Regions from separate parts of the Homo sapiens genome. Here region 2 is linked to region 1. Evidence: promoter capture Hi-C in human tissues and cell types (Jung and others, 2019). All regions are on one chromosome and are shown on one strand. The core of a region is centred on a gene start or on the middle of the fragment in contact, and the rest is flanking DNA. Distances in the headings are between cores, read along the strand shown. Region 1 holds the start of ROR2 (receptor tyrosine kinase like orphan receptor 2). Region 2 has its middle 22 kb from the start of NFIL3.

The links. The method cuts DNA at HindIII sites, captures the fragments that hold promoters and counts their contacts. A contact is called where the count stands out against the background at its distance.
Region 2: a fragment that was not itself captured here is called in contact with the fragment with the promoter of ROR2 in region 1 in 1 of the 25 tissues and cell types used here (mesenchymal stem cells).

The regions. Positions count from the first base shown.
Region 1 is chr9:91,948,815-91,952,146 of GRCh38, forward strand. It overlaps ROR2 (receptor tyrosine kinase like orphan receptor 2), which reads right to left and starts at 1,414. Exons shown (of 9, transcript NM_004560.4): 1 at 1,053-1,414. The coding sequence starts at 1,149. RefSeq lists enhancers at 205-706, 707-1,206 and silencers at 1,400-1,579, 1,693-1,987. The HindIII fragment of the contact is 10,523 bases long and covers 1-3,332 here.
Region 2 is chr9:91,444,044-91,447,411 of GRCh38, forward strand. It overlaps a transcript of NFIL3 not described here. Among named protein-coding and RNA genes, the nearest start is that of NFIL3, 22 kb to the left of the region's middle. The HindIII fragment of the contact is 5,612 bases long and covers 1-3,368 here.

The DNA.
Region 1 (3,332 bases), core at 164-2,663:
CGCTCCTGGGCCTGAAGGCCCCGCCCGCCCTCCTCCACCCCCGCAGGGTGCCGAGAATCCGGCCCGAGGCGCGCGGGCGGGAGGTGCTCCCGGAGTCTGCACCGCCAGAGCTAACGCCGCCTCCTCCAGGCAACCTAGGCAGGTCCCAAGCTGCACTTCCGAACCTCCCCGCCGTTCCTCTGCGCCCCGGATCCAAGCAGCCGAAACCGCGCAGGGACTCGGGGGAAGTGGGGCCCCGGGAGGAAACCCACCTAGGAGCCGGGCCCCGCCCCTCCCGCCGCCAGCCTCCTACAGGTCCCGGGGGTCCCCCCGGCGCGGCCAGAAGGCGGCCGCGCCCCAGCCGCTCAGGGACCCGCGATCCCAGTCACAAACCATTTCAATCCAGATCACACACCACTTCGGCCACCCCAGAGCGGTGGGGGAGAGGAGGTTTCAGGGACCAACAAAAGGGATGCCAAAGAGCCCGTTTCCATCAAGCGGCCCGCGGGCTGGGAAAGTCAGGACCCGGGAGCCGCCGGCGCCCCCACCCCCGCCGCAAGAGCCGCTTCTCCGGGGCCACGTCCACCCCAGGATTCTGCCAGGCATCAGGCCGCCCTGGGGGTGGGGGGACGCTCCGAGACAGACGGGGGACACTCGGGGCCGTGTGCCCTTGAAGGAGGAAGACCTCGGGGAGGAAGCCCGGGTCCTGGGACCCTCGGGGCACATCTGCGGACTCGGGTCCCGGGCCCAGGGCGGGTACTCACATTCACACTCGCACTCCCACTCGCGACCCTCGGGAAGCGCCACCGAGAGGCTCCCAGCCGCCGCCGCCCGCCCCCAGACTCTGGAAACACTTAGGCGTCCCCAGAGCGCGGCTTATTGTAACCAGCCCGAGGGGGTCCGGGGTGCGGGCCGGGAGCGGCGTCGGGCGAGATGCGAATGGCCCTGCCTGGCGCCCCTCGTTCAGGAGCATGGGCGCCGGCGCAGCGGCCGGGAGCATAGTGGCGGCGGAAGGGCTGGCCAAGCGAGCCGTGAGCTACCGTCTGCGCACAAGCCGGAACGCCAGATCCTACCTGAAGTCCGGGACACTGAGAGCAGAAGCGCGGCGGCCGCCCAGACGGCCGGGATGCACAGCAGCGGCCGCCGCGGGAGCGCCGAGCCCCGGGCCATGCCGCAGGCAGTGGGGGCCGGGAAGCCCTCAGAGCTTCGGGCCGGGGCGCGGGGTCGGGCGCCACCACCCCTTTCTACGATGCGTCCGCTCCTCCTTCTCCCTGGCGCTTCGCAAACGGGTCCACTTCGAGGACCTCGTCGTCGTCCTCTTCTCCGGCCCGGATGCGCCGCTCGGCTCCGGCCACGGCAAGGGCTGGCTGGGGAGGTTCCTTGGCGCGGGCTGGGGCGTCCCGCCGGCCGCCAGGACGAGCGCGGGGGGCGGACCGCGGGCGAGCGCGCAGGAGGCAGGGTCCCCGCTCGCCCGCCCCGATGGGCAGAGCGAGGCTTGCGCCGGCGCCCCCTGCCGGGGGAACGCGCGGGCGGCGGGCGGGACCCAAGGAGCTGGGGCTGCAGCTGGGGCCCCGGACCTGCCTCCTGCGCCCGCCCTCGGGCCTGCGCCTCGGAACGCTTGAACACAAAGGTGGCGCCTTGGGGGCGTCAGCCGGAGTTCGGCGGGTCTGCCCACGCAGGAGAGGCGCCCAGAGCGGGTGCCCCCGACTTTCGGGGGCGACACACCCGGGGATCTAGGTCACAAATCAGTAACTCCAGGCTGCACTGCGCACCGGGACAAATCTGAGAGCCACCCAGCCCCAGACACCAGCGGTGAGGCAGGAAGAGGAGAAGCGAAAGTTGCAAAAGGAAATGTTCAGGAAAACAAACAGGCCGCCTTGGCACCGGCGCCCTCCCAGGTCGGTGGGGACAAGCGCGTCCCCCGAAATGCTCAAAACTGCCAGGGGTCGAGCTGCGTGGAGGGAGCCCTCGGGAGCGCGATGCTATCCGAAGCCACCGCGGCTTTTGGTTTACTGTTAAAAGCAAATTGTATAATTTTACCCATTAAAGGCAGAACACTATTTGTTCTCTGCAGAGGCCCAGAATGTGCAGAATTTGCTTCACTTATTAGAGACATTTTGAACGGAATTCAAATAGCATGTTTTCTTGCTTATTCTTGGTTTTGCTCAGCACATGCAAATGTCTTTGTTTTTCCTCTTAGAGGAAGGAATTGGATTCTCCAGCATCTCAGTTGCTTGTTCCATGAGATTGATCTTTTAACTGATTATCCAGCAGTTTGTTTGGTGTTTTTGCTGGAGTACCAAGCTCTGTTAATTGGAGGGCATTAGGGAGAGCCCTGGCCTTGGGTGCCAGACGTGAGGCCTCAGACGTGGCCAGAAATAAAAACTCTCTTGCTATGGTCTGCGGACAAAATGACTAAGCCAGCTCTAGCTTGTTACCTCTGTTAAAAGTATTTAGGCGTCCGGCTATCTCTACCCAATTTGTGTAGGGAAATATCTCACGCAGTTCTCATTCCCAGGAGCTGCTGTAAATCCAGTAGGAGAATGGGAGAAGATCCTAGCCCCTCCTCAACTGGATGGCAAAATTATTACCAAACTTCTTAGACGGGCTCAGGCTGTTCCTCTGCCCAGGCTGGTGCGGGTCTGAACGGGGGGGCTGCTCTCCCCAGTGGTTAGAGGACTGCCAGGGGTTTATCTTTGGGGTTTTCCTCCCTTTAGCTTCCCTTAGAATCCTTAAGGATGCTTTTAGAGTAATGTTTTAAGAGTAGGTGCTGAAGCACTTAGTTCCACACCCCTCTCTTCTGGATCTAGGGAAAACCCAACAGGGGCTGCAGAGAAGGGTCTTGAACCTGCCCTGGAAAACCCCTCCCTCAGCAATGCTGTGTCCTTTCCGTGGTGCTGTGCAGCTCGGAGAAGGTGGTCCCAGCACCTTTGCTTTCCACTTCACACAGCGTGAGCATGTGGCTCCAGAACCATTTCATCAGCAGCCCTGCCATTTATTTTTGTGTGACCTTCAGGAAAATGACCTCATCATGCCCCCATCTGTGTGTTATTTTCACATGACTGAGGCCCCACAAACCCAACTCAAAGGTTTAAACAGCAACATATATTTTGCTGACAGTTTCTTGGGTGGAGTCAGAAATGTGGGTTATATTGCATATGATTTCTTAAAAGCCTTTTAAAGCTTTCTTTTTTGGCATTTCTCTCTCACTCTCTCCTTCCCTTTCTGTAGGTTCTGAACTGAAGGATAAACAAAAAAAGCAAAGTTGGAAGGATGAAAATACAAGCTTTCTCAGTGGTTAAGAGAATATGGCTTACGTCCAAGGCCAAATTGGAGCAACATATTCCTTTCCA
Region 2 (3,368 bases), core at 863-3,362, 500 kb before region 1:
TGAAAATTCCATGTTGCAAGCATTTGTTTGCTTAGTAGTGTTACATAAGTCCAACAGGCTTTCTTCATTCTTTTTCACTTTCATTTTTTTCCTCTGATTGATTCATTTCAAACAGCCTATCTTCAAGTTCACAGAATCTTTCTTCTGCTTGATCTAGTCTGCTGTTGAAGCTCTTGATTGTATTTTTCATTTCATTGATCAAATTCTTTAATTCTAAGATTTATGTGTGGTTTTAAAAAAAATGATATCTATCTCTTTATTGAATTTCTCATTCAGATCATAAACTGTTTTCCTGATTTCATTGAATTATCTATCTGTATTCTTTTGTATCTTCCTGGATTTCCTTTAAATCATTATTTTGAATTCTTTTTTAGGCAGTTGGTAAATTTTCATTTTCTTGGAGTCAGTTACTGAAGAATTGTTGTGTTCCTTTGATGGTATCATATTTCCTTCGTTTTTTGTGTTTCTTGTATCCTGCATTGACGTTTGTGCATCTGGTGGAGCAGTCACCTCTCTCAAACTTTACACAGTGGCTTTTGTTGGGAAAGATTTTCACCCACAGATGGGCTTGAGGGAGACAATTGGGCAGGGCGTGATGGGTCTGGTCCCAGGTGGGTGTAGTTATGTAATTCTCCATGTAGCTTCTTTACCTGTGATGAACATCAGCAATGACTGTGGGTGCCTCAGTGGTCTAGGCTGCAAGATTTTGTGGCAACAGTGGTGGCAGCATATGTTATTAGGATTCTTGGTGGCAAGAGCTTTAGAGATTCTCCTGTACTTTTCTTCTCCACCACTTAGCTGAAGTGTCTTAGCTGAAGGAATCTCTCTTCGTTTCAAGCCTGACATGGCCCACAGGTAATGGTGCTGGGATCCAGGGCCCAGGTGCTCTGAGTGTCTGTAGAGCCAGAGTCCTGGGCTGGGCTCAGGGTCTTGCAAAACTACTATAGGACCTGGGACTTGAGGTTCAGTTCACTCTCTGAGGCACAAGTGGCTTTAGTTCTCTAATAAAGCTGGGGTCTGTTGCTCTGAGGCATATCCTAGCAGCTGAGGCCCATGGAGCTAGGTTGTAGCTATGACTGTGGTCCTGGTGGTCAGGGCATAGTACTGACTTGGCTCTGGGAAGAAGGGGTACTCTGAGGGTTTGGCCCTGGGGAGCAAGGCACAACTGCAGTTCAGGTCCCAGAACCAATAGGAAACAGTGACAACTTGGGCCCTGAGGGATGAGATACCACACAGTAGTGACTCTGGATTCTGAGAATGTGAGGCATGACAGTAACCCAGGCTCTGTGAGGCCAGTTGTTGCAGCAGCAATGACCCAGGAATGGCCCAGCTGTGGCTTAGGCCCTGAGGACCGGGGAGTAGACAGTGATGACTCTATTCCCCATGGAGTGGGCATGCCTCAGCAGCTTGGACTCTGGGGGACTACTCCAGTTTTAGGGAGGCAGGGCCTTTAGCTGTGGAGCCTAAAAGGTGGGGTAGAACAGCTCAGCCAAGGGTAAGTTTCCCTGGAATATGAGGTGCCACATCAGCTCAGCTCCAGAGTATGGCTACACACATTGCCAGGGGCTCTAGTTCTCTGAGGGGTGGGGTGCAGCATTGGCTTGGGCACTGGGGGCGCAAGACTGCTCTGTAGGGCTGAAGCTTAGGGTCCATAGAAAGCAGGGCACTACCTCAGCTATGGTACTTGGAGATGCAACTGCCAGAGGTTTGAGATCCCAGAGCAGTGAGGAAGAGTGTTAGCTCAGACCCTGAGGGCAGGGTGCTCCAGTGACTGAAATCGGGGGGATGGAGTGTCTCCACAGTAGCTTAGCTCAGGGGTAGGTTGTAGTAACAGCTTGACTTAGAGATGGTAATGCTATCATGTGGGCATGGTACAGTGGCAGCAAAGACTCAGGGATGGAGAGGTGCAATGGCTACTCATCCCTGGAGCAGAACACAGTCTGGCAGTGGCCCTAATTCCAAGACGGTGTAGAACAGCAGCAGCTCAGACCACAAGGAGAGAGATACAACATCAGCTCTTTCTCTGGGGTAGTGCAGTGTGTAGACACTGGGGAGCTCCCTTAACTAGGATCAGAATCTGTGAGGACTGTGGGAGTCTCCAATAATGAAGAATGCAGATGTCCACAGTGGTGATGGGGGTTTCAGGAGTCCTCTTGCTTACCTTTCCCTGCAGAGAGAAAGTCTCTCCTGGTTATGAGCTGATCCTTACTGGGCGACCAGTTGGTGGAGGCAAACTGTTTCCTTCCCTTCTCTACGTAGCCATACTGGATTTCTGTGCTTCACAGGATTTCTGTTGCTCCTTTTCTCTTCTCTAGTGTTCTCCTTTAGTTATTTTGGTTGAAATGTAGTTGTATATTCATTGTTTTGTTTTTGTGTGTGTTGCAAGGCAACGAGTTCTACGAACTTCTAGTTGACCATCTTGCTGAAATCACCCCTAATTTTACCCATTTTAAAAGTGCAATTCAATAGCATTAATTACATTTGCAATATGGTACAACCATCATCACTATTTCCAAAACCATTTTCATCCTTCCAAATGGAAACTCTGTAACCATAAACAATAACTCCTTCTTCCTTCACCCCTCAGCCTCTAGTAATCTCTAATATACTTTCTGTCTCCATACATTTGACCATTTTAGGTATTTCATATTAGTGGAATCATACAATATACGTGCTCTTGTGTCTAGCTTATTTTACTAAGTATGATGTTTTCTCTCCCTCCCTCCCTTCCTTCCTCCCTCCCTCCCTTTCTCTCTCTCTCTCTCTCTCTCTTTCTTTCTTTCTCTCTTTCAATGGAGTTTTGCTCTTGTTGCCCAGGCTGGAATGCAATGGCATGGTCTTGGCTCACAGCAACCTCTACCTCCTGAGTTCAAGTGATTCTCCTGCCTCAGCCTCCCAAGTAGCTTGGATTACAGGTCCGCACCACCATGCCTGGCTAATTTTTGTAGTTTTAGTAGAGGCGGGGTTTCACCATGTTGGCCAAGCTGGTCTTAAACTCCCGACCTCAGGTTATCTGCTTGCCTCGGCCTCCCAAAATGCTGGGATTACAGATGTGAGCCACTGCGCCCGGCCCTGATGTTTTCAAGTCTTAACCATGTATAGCATATATAAGAACTTCATTCATTTTAAAGCTGAATAGTATTCCATTTGTATGTATATATCACATTTTGTTTACCCATTCATCTGTTGATGGATACATGGGTAGTCTCTGACTTTGAGCTATTATGAACTATGCTGTGATGAACACTGGCATTCCAGTATCTGTTTGAGTCCTGCTTTCAATTCCTTTGGGTATTGAGATTGCTAGTAGTGGAATTGCTGGTTCATATAGTAATCCTATGTTTAGCTTCTTGAGGAACTGGCAAATT